Regions from separate parts of the Homo sapiens genome. Here regions 1, 2, 3 and 4 are each linked to region 5. Evidence: promoter capture Hi-C in 16 types of primary human blood cells and fetal thymus (Javierre and others, 2016). All regions are on one chromosome and are shown on one strand. The core of a region is centred on a gene start or on the middle of the fragment in contact, and the rest is flanking DNA. Distances in the headings are between cores, read along the strand shown.

Evidence for each region. The method cuts DNA at HindIII sites, captures the fragments that hold promoters and counts their contacts. A CHiCAGO score of 5 or more calls a contact.
Region 1: a fragment that was not itself captured here is called in contact with the fragment with the promoter of CLCA2 in region 5 in 1 of 17 cell types (neutrophils); the score reaches 5.2 in neutrophils.
Region 2: a contact is called between a fragment that was not itself captured here and the fragment with the promoter of CLCA2 in region 5, in 1 of 17 cell types (neutrophils). The highest score is 10.9, in neutrophils.
Region 3: a contact is called between a fragment that was not itself captured here and the fragment with the promoter of CLCA2 in region 5, in 1 of 17 cell types (non-activated CD4 T cells). The highest score is 5.4, in non-activated CD4 T cells.
Region 4: a fragment that was not itself captured here is called in contact with the fragment with the promoter of CLCA2 in region 5 in 4 of 17 cell types (erythroblasts, fetal thymus, total CD8 T cells and 1 more); the score reaches 6.1 in erythroblasts.

Annotation. Positions count from the first base shown.
Region 1 is chr1:87,067,076-87,069,775 of GRCh38, reverse strand. All of the region lies in intron 1 of HS2ST1 (heparan sulfate 2-O-sulfotransferase 1), which reads right to left. Among named protein-coding and RNA genes, the nearest start is that of LINC01140, 61 kb to the left of the region's middle. The HindIII fragment of the contact is 8,519 bases long and covers 1-2,700 here.
Region 2 is chr1:87,103,465-87,106,164 of GRCh38, reverse strand. It overlaps HS2ST1 (heparan sulfate 2-O-sulfotransferase 1), which reads right to left. Exons shown (of 7, transcript NM_012262.4): 6 at 2,576-2,700; 7 at 1-1,695. The coding sequence ends at 1,469. Among named protein-coding and RNA genes, the nearest start is that of LINC01140, 25 kb to the left of the region's middle. The HindIII fragment of the contact is 2,197 bases long and covers 352-2,548 here.
Region 3 is chr1:87,119,473-87,122,172 of GRCh38, reverse strand. No RefSeq gene overlaps it. Among named protein-coding and RNA genes, the nearest start is that of LINC01140, 8.9 kb to the left of the region's middle. The HindIII fragment of the contact is 1,093 bases long and covers 808-1,900 here.
Region 4 is chr1:87,084,793-87,087,492 of GRCh38, reverse strand. All of the region lies in intron 3 of HS2ST1 (heparan sulfate 2-O-sulfotransferase 1), which reads right to left. Among named protein-coding and RNA genes, the nearest start is that of LINC01140, 44 kb to the left of the region's middle. The HindIII fragment of the contact is 1,014 bases long and covers 829-1,842 here.
Region 5 is chr1:86,422,770-86,425,469 of GRCh38, reverse strand. CLCA2 (chloride channel accessory 2) reads right to left here and starts at 1,299. Exons shown (of 14, transcript NM_006536.7): 1 at 1,037-1,299; 2 at 1-131. The coding sequence starts at 1,222. The HindIII fragment of the contact is 7,161 bases long and covers 396-2,700 here.

The sequences.
Region 1 (2,700 bases), core at 121-2,620, 640 kb before region 5:
AATTATGAAAAGGTAGAAATATTGGCATCACTACTTTCCTCATTCAAATAGTATTTACATGCATTTTCTATTTTTCAAGTGTTTTTACTTTGCTTAAATATATAGGACAATTATTAATATAATGTTAGGCCTAAAACTACATAAAAAGATAAAAAATGTATGGAAAATTAAGAACAATTTTGTTAGTAATATTAAATCACATCTCAGTTGAACAGCAGTAACTATTATTGATGATAAATTACTATCTTTCTTCTGTGGCAATACTTAAAATCAATCAGTGTTTTCAATATGGTCATTTTCTTTATTTACTAAGTAAGTATTAGATAGTTATAATTCTTTTTTTTAGCAAAGATGCTCTACATCTAGTTAGTGCAGCCTCTTGTGAGGCTTTCTTAAATCACTGAAGAAAGTTAACTAGTTATGCCACATTTGCAGTGCACTTAGAATGTAGGCAGTATATTCAAAATACTTAGGATACATTTTGTCGTAATGTTTTCTTCATCTTTGAGTAATAAATTGCAGTTCACCCTTGAACAACATGGATTTGAACTGCATGAGTCCAATACGTGGATTCTTTTTCAATAAAATTTACACTGAGTGTGCCTGCTTCTCCTGCCTCCTACCTCCTTTATCTCTTCTGCCTCTGGCATCCATGAGACAGCAAGACTAGGCCCACCTCTTCCTCCTCAGCCTGCTCAGTGTGAAGATGATGAGGATGAAGATGTTTGTGATAATCTATTTCCCCTTAACAAATAGAAAACTTAACATATTTTCTCAGAGCCTGGCCTGGTGGCGTGCACCTGTAGTCCCAGCTACTGCTACTCAGGAGTTGAGGGAGGAGGATTGCTTAAGCCGAGGAGTTTGAGACAAGCCTGGGCAACCCAGCTAGACCCCCATCTCTTAAAAAAAAATTTTAAATAAAAAAATAAAAAATACATATTTTCTATTTCTTGTATGTTAAATAACATTTTCTTTTCTCTAGTTTACTTTATTGTAAGAATATAGTATATAGCGTTACAAGAATACAGCATGCAATATACAATATGTGTTAATCAACTGTTTATTGATTGGCCAGGCTTCTGGCCAACAGTAAGCTATTAATAGTTAAGTTTAAAGGTGTTGGGAAGTCCTTTGACAACCGGTGCAAGACAAAGATGCCCTCTCTCACCACTCCTATTCAACATAGTATTGGAAGTTCTGGCCAGGGCAATCAGGCAGGAGAAAGAAATAAAGGGTATTCAATTAGGAAAAGAGGAAGTCATATTGTCTCTGTTTGCAGATGACATGATTGTATATTTAGAAAACCCCATCGTCTCAGCCCAAAATCTCCTTAAGCTGATAAGCAACTTCAGCAAAGTCTCAGGATACAAAATCAATGTGCAAAAATCACAAGCATTCCTATACACCAATAATAGAGAGCCAAATCATGAGTGAACTCCCATTCACAATTGCTACAAAGAGAATAAAATACCTAGGAATCCAGCTTACAAGGGATGTGAAGGACCTCGTCAAGGAGAACTATAAACTTTGCTCAAGGTAATAAGAGAGGACACAAATAAATGGAAAAACACTCCATGCTCATGGATAGGAAGAATCAGTATCATGAAAATGGCCATACTGCCCAAGGTAATTTATAGATTCAATGCTATCCCCATCAAGCTACCACTGACTTTCTTCACAGAATTGGAAAAAACTACCTTAAATTTCATATGGAACCAAAAAAGACCCCGCATAGCCAAGACAATCCTAAACAAAAAGAACAAAGCTGGAGGCATCACGCTACCGACTTCAAACTATATTACAAGGCTACACTACCAAAACAGCATGGTACTGGTATCAAAACATAAATACAGACCAATGGAGCAGAACAGAGGCCTCAGAAATAACACCACACATCTAGAACCATCTGATCTTTGACAAACCTGACAAAAACAAGCAATGGGGAAAGGATTCCCTATTTAATAAGCGGTGTTGGGAAAACTGGCTAGCCATATACAGAGAACTGAAACTGGACCCCTTCCTTACACCTTACACAAAAATTAACTCAAGATGGATTAGAGACTTAAACTAAGACTTAAAACCATAAAAACCCTACAAGAAAACCTAGGCAACACCATTCAGGACATAGGCATGGGCAAAGACTTCATGACTAAAACACCAAAAGCAATGGCAACAAAAGCCAAAATTGACAAATGGGATCTAATTAAACTAAAGAGCTTCTGCACAGCCAAAGAAACTATCATCAGAGTGAACAGGCAACCTACAGAATGGGAGAAAATTTTTGCAATCTACCCATCTGACAAAGGGCTAATACCCAGAATCTACAAAGAACTTAAACAAATTTACAAGAAAAAAACAACCCCATCAAAAAGTGGGTGAAGGACATGAACAGACACTTCTCAAAAGAAGACATTTATGCAGCCAACAAATATATGAAAAAAAGCTCATCATCACTGGTAATTAGAGAAATGCAAATCAAAACCACAACAAGATACCATCTTACGCCAGTTAGAATGGCAATCATTAAAAAGTCAGGAAACAAGAGATGCTGGAGAGGACGTGGAGAAATAGGAACACTTTTACACTGTTGATGGGAGTGTAAATTAGTTCAACCATTGTGGAAAACAATGTGGCGATTCCTCAAGGATCTAGAACCAGAAATACCATTTGACCCAGCAATCCCATTACTGGGTATATACC
Region 2 (2,700 bases), core at 201-2,700, 680 kb before region 5:
TTTTCCCTTTCTTTGTTAAAAAATGAATGGTATGAAACTATATGTTAAAGATGTTTCTATAATACCTTACATTTACATAGCGCTTTACAATTTTCAAAGTGCTTTCACATGCCATCTCATTTAATCCTCACAACAGCCCTGTGAGGTAGGTACAGCAGGTATTATTATCCTCATTTCAAGATGAGGAAATTGAGGCAAAGAGAGGTTAAGTGACTTGCCCAAGATCACACAGCTGTAAGTGCTAGAGCTAGGACCTGAAATCAAGTTTTTTGACTCCTTGTCCAGTACTCATTCCACTGTAATTACTGCCTCAAGTTATGAATAATGAACTGTGTATCAAAATTGAAAGCTTACTGAAGTTCATTTCAGTGATGTCTTAACAGTAAAGTTAAATGAGAAATACAAGAACAGTAGGTCTGATGGTTTTACTTGACATAAAATTGGTGCAAAACCACTTTTGTCTAATTACTTGTAACCTTTTGGTCCAAATACATAAAATATGCAATATTTACAGCATTTTCCTTGTTTTGTAAATGCAATGCTTTAAAACACATTATAAAGCACCTTAGTAAAAATAGTCTACAGGTAAAAGTACAGAAGAAGTAGGAAAATCCTACCCATACCACAGCTCACTAATGGAGTCATAATACGGAGTCACCGATATCTCAGTTTACAGCTTTACAAATAACCCATGGAGAAACAAATACTAAACTTACTTTTTTGATATTAATGTGTGAAAATCTTAACTAAAACTTCAGACAATCTCAATATTCTTTGAAGTATCTTCCCAGTATTAGATATTGAGGAGGCAGGAATGAGAAATACTGCTTTGATGCTTTATCTTTTTACCATATTAGTCATGATTTAAATTGATTTTTAACACTAATCACCATTTAAAAAATTAAAACCACCTACATAAATATGGGCAAATCCAACTACAGCAGAAACATTTCTTAGCAAATATGATTAAACATTCCAATAAATTTCATGAGACATGACTCACAAAAACAAAGTACACACTGCCAAACAGTTATTAACACAATTCAGTAGAGGTGTATAACCCAAACCCTCAGTGAAGGCAGAAGAGGCAAATGGACTCATCTTAATTCATGGTTAGTTGAAAAAATGCTTTATCAAAAACAAGAGTATCAGAACCTTTTCTGAAATTGTATTTAGCCTTTTGATTAGACCTGCCATAAGTTCATTTTAGGTGATGTATATTTTCTCCCAGGCAGGAGGTTATAACTTTCACCAACGTTTAGCCAGGAAAAATAAAAATGCCTGAAACTTAGAACACTGACAATGCCAGCCAGTATCTACTTCCTTGACGTTACTGTCTGTTTCCTAATTTGGCTCAATACAAATTGTCATATACACCTACTGTCAGCAATCCAGACTGTGGAGCTGAGAACAAAGGTGAAGACAGGGTCAAATTTTAGTTCAAGAATCCAATAGTCACACCTTATACTCAGTTCGACTTAGGGTAAATCTTTTCATAGAAAAAGTTTTGTGCGAGGATGTAGAGGTCTCCATCTTTTTCTCGAACGGCATGGGCTCTGATGAATTGGAACTGCTCTAGTGCAAATTCATAGAACTCATTCTCCATTTTCCAAATATCAGATTGCTGTAGTTTTGCAATGGTTTGTTTAGTGGGGAGTTTCTTCTCTGTGGTTTTCCTAAGATGAGATTTCTTTCCTACTTACAAAGGGGGAAAAAAAGGAAAGGTAAATAATTCTTGGAGAACACACAAAAGATCAATGCCTCTTTATTTGAAGAGGTGGTTAATATGACACATTAAGAACAGGTAACATAATTGTCTTATATAATTCAGGTAAAAACGGAGCCTTGATCAAACTAGAGCCATGATTCAGTCCTTTAGAATGTTAATCCTTAACCTAGTAAAGACTTAATGAAATGTCAAATAGTCAATGTAAGGATTGGCACACAGTAAAGTGTAGGCTGTCACCTCACACACTATATTCTCAAGTGCTTGGTGCTCTGAGACTAGTTTATTTTTGATAAAATACCTATTGTCAAACTGTATTCTATTTTCTCATAATCTGTATTCTCTAAAATTATGTGTTAGAAGCTAGGGCATATGCATCCTCAAGGAGAAGAGTTCCTATGACTGCATCTTATCAAGCAATAGCAAAAAACGAAACAAAACAAAAACACAATTAGCTTATCACTTTCAGACACATGATAATACGGCTGAGGCTGCTAAAACATGGCTTAGGCATACTTCAGTTCCCCTATCACACCTCTACTTCAAAATGGTAGTAGGCAGGACTTATACACAGGCCTAATGTTTGATATCTGGCATTATTGAATACCATACATTTCTATGGCTGGTTCTGTACTTTGTATCATTCCACTATTTCTACAGTGCCTTCTAATTTTCACCTAATTCACAGTTACTCAATTGAAAATAGTGAGCAGAAACCGACAAGATACCTGCCTTTCTGGAGCTATCTGTTGTGTTTCACTGAAGAAACTTCAAATCACATATTTACAAGTTGCAAACCAAAAAACCAAACCAAAGAAAGCTTTAAAAAGAAACCCTTCCTTTATATACCTGTGCGATAGAGTTCAGTAGCACCCCTGAAAAACCGGGGCAATGCTGCCTCCAATAACATGATAAAATCTTCAAGTTCTTCAGTAACTCCCACCAGAAAATATTCATTAATTAGGTTATACTTG
Region 3 (2,700 bases), core at 105-2,604, 700 kb before region 5:
GCAGCCAAATGTCAGTGCCATAAGGAAAAGGGCCAGGCTGGGAAGTTGGCCTGGCCTAGGATCTGGTCTCTGTATTCGTGTTATTGGTCACAGTCCCCAAGGGGGAGGCTTTGCGCTCTGATTCCTCTTGGTGAAATGTAGGGTAGAGTGTTTGGTCAACTTCAAAGCCCAGTGCAACTTCCTCAGCTCTTTGTCAGATTCTACCCAAGTCTGATCCAATCCTAGGGGGTGGAGGCGGGGAGGGGCGGTGCAGTATTCGACTTAGTTTACTCTTGGCAAAACAGATCTTCCTGAGTCTCAGGGAGGAAAACGAGCAGCTTAGACAGATGTAAACAGGCTCTGAGGCCCTTTGGACATCAAATAACACTAACAAAACAACGTTTAGATGAGTTAAGTGTAAATCAATCAGAAACATATGGACTACATTTAACTGAAAATACACAGGGGTTTACAAATTACAGGCACAGGGGCTTGGCAAAATGCAATTCAAGTTTTGCCAAACCTAAAATGTTTGGAGAAGATTAAAAGAAAGTAGTCTGACCCCAAATTCCTTCAACCCTGCCCATCTCTGACACTGATAATATCCCACATGACCATAAACATTTAAGGGCATGGATTTTAAGAGATTTATATGCTGAATAAATTTAACTACACAACGAGCTGAGGTTCTTTTCCAGAAGAATGTTCATAGAAAGCTGAAACTGCCAAGTGACTGTATTAAAAGGGAGAAAACATCTACCTTTTGAGTTGGGCCAAAGAGATACACCTACATGTTTTCACTTGCAACAGAGTGGGATATTCTAAGCTTAGATGCCCGTGATTGCAGATTCATGGAGCACAGGCTCTGCTTTTTCCTGGTGTGGGTAGTCTTTGCACAGTGAGTGGCAGGCAGCATCTTGCACCCATTTGCCGCATATGGGGACAACGCAGAGATATATTCACTAGTGTCACTGTTGTGTTGTGACCCTCCCACATGTGGCATTTCTAGGTCAAAGAAAAGTTGTCCCAGTGGAACTAAAGCACCCAAGATCCAACTGTTTGAGTTTTGAGATTCAAAAGTGAAGTCTGACTAAGATATAAAAGATTTGGTGTATCCACCCCACTTGCCACCCAAGATGAGATGGAGTCTCCAAAGGAGAGCAGAAGGAAAGAGAGGACTCCTCAGTGGGGTCCCTGAGAAAGAGCTGCATTACTGCTGCCCCCTGGAGGATGGAGGGGAATAAGAGAACAACAAAAGAGGTTGTGGGATGGAAGAGCAAAGACACCACTGTCTGTTTCCTGGGTGCCCAGCATGGACAGGAGCAGCAGAGTAGAAAGTGATTCCGGGTGTGCCCAGATCGAGAGGCCTGTGACAGCCCCATAGAATTCCCACAGCCCTAGAGTAGTTGTGTGGGGTATGGGGCAGAGGCATAGCAGAATTCCCTACAGGCCCTCAAAAGGGGGCACAGGAGTAGTTAAGAAAGAGTCAAATCTGCACAGACCTTGCAGTGGGGGGTGAGAGAGGGCAGCCACAAACCTGTGGGTATCAGTGATCAAGGGTGGGATGGGGTGATACAGACCTGGGAGGCTGGTGTGGATGGACAACCTGGGTCAGAGGGCCCCTCTGTGCATGCATGGACACACACACACACAGGCTGTTGTGATAGTAATAAGCCACCTACAATGGAGACACAACCCCCAGCGAGAGAAAGACTATCCAGCAGTAACTGAAATTGCCAATCAGCAAGCCAAATGGGGACTTGTAACGGATTCACTAAAACAAAACATAATGTTTCTGGCACACTTCAGCTGTTGAGATTCTTGCCTTCTCCTCATGTGGATAAGGTCACAAAGTTGGTCAGGTGGTGTGACTGTTAGATTGTTTTGGGTATTCCCTGAACTCTAAGAAGCAGACAAAGCTTCACCCCACTTCATTTCACCCTAAGGAAACTTGATCTGAGTCATCAGGGATGAGCTGAGGCTGTGAGAGGAGGTGGGAGTGGGTGCAGACTTCAGTTGAAGGTGCAAAGGGGTCATCAATGGAAGTGGCAAGAGGGCAACCCACCAGGGGCAGGTGAGGGAGACAAGTGTGTTGAACCCTCAGGGGTCAGGAGGCTGTCAAAGGCAGAGCAGTGTTCCATTGCTCCTCCAACACAAACCGTTTTCTAGGATATGCTCAGGCAGGCCAGCCAGCTTACCACATCCTCTTGCTCTGGAGGGACTAAGGGAAGGGCTGGGAGGCATAGAGGAGCTCCAAGATGGTTGGTCGGCTAGAACCAGGGCTCTGCATGGAGAGGGAGCTGCTGAAGCCAGAGGAGGGGCCTAGAGACACAGTAATTTTGAGGAAGGGAGGAACTTGGAATTGTTCATACTTGTGCCATTGGCTTTGTGGGGTAACCTACAAGTGGGAAGTTAACCAGAAGAAAGCAGTCATTGTCATTAGAGGAAATTCTACGTCTTCTCCTGTGTGGCACACAGGATGATTCAAGGGCCAGCCCACAATATTTCTGTTTTCCCCTGCATCTCGCCTGTTGGTTAGAATGTGGTTCTAGACACATGGGGCCTGTAGCAATTGAATATGAATTTGCATCCATGTTTACAAAAACAATCAGAGATTTTACACGGGCCTCCTCAGCATGAAATATGCAGTGAAGCTGCAATAACCCCTGCTACCACCCACCTCCCTACTACCAGATTTGTTTTCTATGGCTGCTATAACAA
Region 4 (2,700 bases), core at 86-2,585, 660 kb before region 5:
CTAGCGGCAATATGGAGGAACCAAAATGGCAGCAATGAAAACTCATTCTCATTTCTAGGGACAACTACAAAGGTACATACCTGATACGTGCCTGAATAAAACTGTTATATCAAAAATAATTTTCAAATACCTCTCAAGACAGATGCTGACATGTGACACTGAGGTAGCTAGATCATAAAAAACTTAGCAGAGTCTGACAGAAAGTACAGCATTAAAAGTGTTCTTTTAGCTATTATTCATTATAAATGAAAATGTTTATTGCTGAAGAAGTGTTTTTGAAAGAGACTTCTAACATTTTAATTTTCTAAAGTTTGAAGAAAATCAAAATGGGCTAATAGATGCTATTAAAAAATAAATAGTGCACATTTAAAAGGGGAGGAATATTTAATATTTTTACTGTTTATAATAAAACTTCATGAACTGGTAATTACAGAAAAAAAGATTTCAGTGAACTCATTAAGGTCAAGAACTGCAACTTACTCAACTTTATATTTCCTGCATACTATGACATTTTGAAAATGTCCAACCTATATACAATTTTAAACTGGAAAATTTTCAAATTTATAATAATTTATATCTACATTATCTTAAAATTGTATCATTCACCAATTAAAAAGAAAACAAAACATAACCTAACATTAAAGGGAAAAATGGAAAGGAAGAAGAACTAGGAAATATACTTTAAAAAAATCAAAGAATAAGATTCAGACAAAAAGGAGCAAGATGGGATAGGAATGCAAAAATGTAAAAAAGATATTTTTGTTATTATTCTAAAGTTCAGTAAAAAACAAATGTATGTAATCAAAACATGGCTTGAGTAGACAAGCTTGCAAATATAATGTGTATTTCTTCGTGGTCGGGCTAAACTAGAAAGGAGCGTTCATTTTTTATTTCTCTATCTTATTTCCTAGGTTTCTTGGGGCTTACATTCGTTTTAATGTCTCTGATAAGGTAAGTTTAAAAAAACTATGTGTTAAATAAGTATTTTGCCAAATTCACCACTTTCTCCTGAAAGCAAGTATTTTACTGGACTCCACAAAGTACTATGCCAGTCAAGAATATTGTTTTGAAGAGTAAAGCACAATTGACCCTTGAACAACACGAGTCTGAACTGTGCAGGCCCATGCATACATAGATTTTTTTCAACCACACACAGATACAGTACTTGAGAGATGTGAAACCCGTGTACAAGGGGTGACTTTCAAATTCGTGGGTTTCACAGGGCCAACGGAGGGACTTGAGTATGCGATTTTTATATACTCAGGCAGTCCGAGAACCAATACCCTGGACATACCCCAGGAACGACTGTAATCTAAAAAATTGGTAAGGCGATGTTTCTTTCCTTTTCCTTCCCCATTTATGGAGCATATGGCTATTAAGCTAAAAGATATTTGAGGATACTAGTTACATCTACAACAGTTCTTGATTACATAGATACATCAAAATACATTTCACCTAGGCTGATTTTGTTTAGGTATTTAAAATCTTGGAAAAATCTATGAAAAATTTTCACAATACTTTTCCCTTCAAATAACATAAGACTCACTATGAAAATATTCAAACGCTTAAAAATTCATGTCAGCATTTAATAAATGAGATTAATCTCTTCAAAAAGCCTTATTTTTTCAACTACAAGAACCTCAGCATATATCAGAGCTTTGTTCTAAGTATAAGACTTTGCCAAAAGCAAAAGCACTCAATTTATAATTTTAATAATGAAAACCTAGACTATTAGAAACCAAGCTGTGTGTGGAAAGAATAAATCATTTAGGTGAAAGGGTAACAAACATTCAATTCAAGGATAATGCAGCCCTGAGGGAAAATATGCACATGAACGAAGCTTATGAAATTGGTTCAATGCCTATGCAAAGAAAAAAATAATTAGTTTATTTTAAAGCTGCCTATAAAATATTTTCAATATTGCAGTATGAATTATTTATAGAAAAACATACATCTAACTTTAGAGCTACAATTTGATTGAAAGATCTTGAGTACTATGAGAGGAACTAGAAATAGGAACATATCACTTTATGTATGTAATATTTGGGTGATTCTTTTTTAATTACATGATTTCCCAAAAAGTTAAGATTATCAGTTTGAATCAGTAATACTTCATTCTACTTTTTCTTTTCAAAATTAAGTAAAACTGAGAGTGGGATATCACTTTTATTTTAAATTTTATAAAAAATGCCTTTTAAAGTTGACCAATATATCAAGGTGTGTTACTCTGAAATCATAATAGCTAATTTAAAAACTGAATAAACATGTCTAAGCTAAATAATAAAAAAAATTTTTTTAGTGTTTTTGAAGTTAATGCAGAATCTTAGGGAAAACATTTGGATTTGAGGTTTACTACAATGGTACTATGTGTACTACCAAAAAAGTTCAAATGTATCCATAAGACTGTTATGTTTGGAATATTAAGTTTAATTAATTTTCTGATTAATAATGTGGCACAGACTGTACAGAAAGCCACATAGTACTTGAATACTGTGAGTAGGCATATAGTTTTCTGAACCCTTCTTGAGAGAACTATTAATATGACAGAGGCCGGGCACAGTGGCTCATGCCTATAATCCCAGCACTTTGGGAGGCTGAGGCAGGAGGATCACCTGAGTCCAGGAGTGAGTGAGTGAGTGAGTGAGTGAGTGAGTGACAGGGAGGGAGAGAGAGCAAGAGAGAAGGAGAGAGGGAGAGAGG
Region 5 (2,700 bases), core at 50-2,549:
TATGATTCTTGTTTTATTTTGCTGTTATTATTAGCTTTCCATGTGGCAGGTATTAAAATCTTTATATTTCTGAAAAATACTCTTCTCTTGGTAGCATTAAATAGGTAAAATGAAGCTTCAGTTATCATTTCCTACAGCCAGACAAAAGAAAAACTTACTTTACCACTTGTAAATCCTGTATGTTTTGGTTTTCTGGTATGCTTAAACAGTAATAAAAGACAATGAAATATTTTGAAGAGACCCATTTCTTTTAGAGAAAGCCCTAGACTTTGGGAAAACATAGGAGCAAATTTTTAAAAAAACTTTAAATGATTATATGGAAGATTTTAGGACACTAATTATATGTCTGTGCTTGCCTTCATAGTTTTCCCAATTTTGAGAAAGGCTTTTAAGCTTTTGTGGAACAAATCCTTTTCATGTCACACCTGTGGGCACATTCAAGACCACACCTTATGATGCTACTGATTTCACTAAAGCAATACTAAATGGAGGCTCTTACATCATAGAGCTATGATCCTCCCTTGCCATATTAAAGTAAAAATAGTCAATTATGTTACAGCACATTCAAGTGAAAAGAAATAATTTTGCTTTTTGGCCCACCGTGCAGACTCTCACCCTTTCTGCCTGAGAATTCTCACCCTCAGGATGGAATCTAGCAATATGATTTTAACAAGCATGCTCATTATCATGCTTATTCATCAGTTAAATATTCAATCTTTGTTGCCACAATGGGTTGTTATTTTTCTAAGTTGCTACCCCAAAAACAGTCATGTAGGAAAACAAAAGAGCTGAAATTAGTAGCAACCAACAATAACAAAATAGAGGGCTAGATCAACACTCTGTGAGCTGAGACTACACAGAATTAGATGAACAAACTGGCTTAGTTAGCCATAATCATAACGTTGTGGCGCTATCTTTTAAAAATGCTGTTCTCTGTATTACTCAAATACAAACCAGGCAGGGTAGTTAGCTTCTAAATAAGGCTACAGGTCTGATCAAATGGGATGCTAGTATCAATTTCATAATTTCCACTCACCTTAATGTTTGAGATGAGGTTCTGATTCTCAGGTACCTGAGGATTAATTGCAATGAGCAATCCATTATACCCATTGTCTTGAAGCTGTACTCCAGCTCCCAGGAATGGGAGTTCTGAACTTAAGGCAACCAGGAGAGTCACAAACTTCAGGTTGCAAATAGGACCTGCAATGCTCCTTTGGGTCATGTTGTAGAGAAGCCTCCAGTTCACTCACACTGAGCCTGCTGCATACATTGTGTCAGGTTTTCAATATGGATGCAGATGGTTTCTTCCTGAACTTGCAAGGTTTTAGAACACAAGATGAAGGAGGTGTCTTCTTTGAAAAGTCTGGGGTGGATCCATCTGGGACCTGCCTCTACAAGTCCTTTTCCTCCAGGCAATGCTACACTTGCCTGTTCTGTGGCTGAGCTGCCTCCTGAATCATGGTTGGGCAAGAAACATTCTGCCCTTCATTCATTTTATAACTTTTCAGAAAGAAGAGGGAAATAAGACCAAAGGAGCTTAAAAGCAGGAAATATGGGCTGGAAATCAGTATATCTGGACTGTTCAATCCACTTGCAGTAGAAACACAGAAGTCTATAGTGATTTTCCTCTCCTCATTTTTCATAACCTCCTCCATCAGTTGGCACAAGTACTTTCTACTGCCCTCAAGTCATTTTTCATTTGTTGCAAGATTTCCTTGCCTGTTTATTTTGAAGATTTAGAAATCCATTCTGCAGCCCAGTCCCTACAGCCCTTGGGTCAGATAGTCTGGGCAAGCTCTCAGCTGATGGCTGGAGGTCAGATATCAGATATCCCCCAGAGAGGGCCAACTGCCAGGAACTTGGGTGCCTGTGCAGCCCTTTCCCTCTGGCCTTGCTACCTTTTCTCTCTGCCTCAGGAAGAAGAATAGATTTCTCCTTCAGCTCTCTCCTAAGGGCAAGGCCCTGCTTCAGTCAACCCTCCATTTCTCCAGGACCAAAAACAGGATCTAATATATAGTAACCATCGCAAATATTTTATGACTGATTCATAATACCTGATATTTACCTCATGCTTTAAAGTTTACAAATGAACTCATTTAAATATCAATACTCTGATGCAGGTATAATTTGTACTTTTCAAATGAAAATAATGAGTCTTGGAAATTCTGATTATGAAAATTAGCCAATGAGAGAAGAAACTAACATTTTTTGAGTGATGGATTTTATTATGCCTATTTTATGGGTGACAGAACTAATGTTCAAAAAAATCTAAGTAACTTGTTCAAGGTTGGGAGTATTATCATCGTACTAGAATGAACCAACTGACTCCAAATTCCACTGTTTTTCAATATATCATGTTCTCTCTTAGTTACTAAATTATCTTAGTAACCTCGTTTCTCCCTCTTCTTTGTGTTTAAGAATGCCGCACAGTGACATCTATTGTAAAACTAAAGAAAAAGTTTTATTCACAGCGTCAGAGGTCCACAGCAAGCAAAACCTGTGACTCTTCCCTGCTGTGGCCCCGTCTCGGAACATTTCTGGGGAGGGGAGTGTAGCATTTAGGAAACGGTCTGTCCCTGCTCTCAACAGGGATTTCACCAACATTGTCTGTTTTCAACATCTTCATGGGCAGTGTGATGTCACTCTTCTTCCCAGCAAGGTTGGAGTCTTCTGAACTTGGGCTTTGATATTGCACTGCAA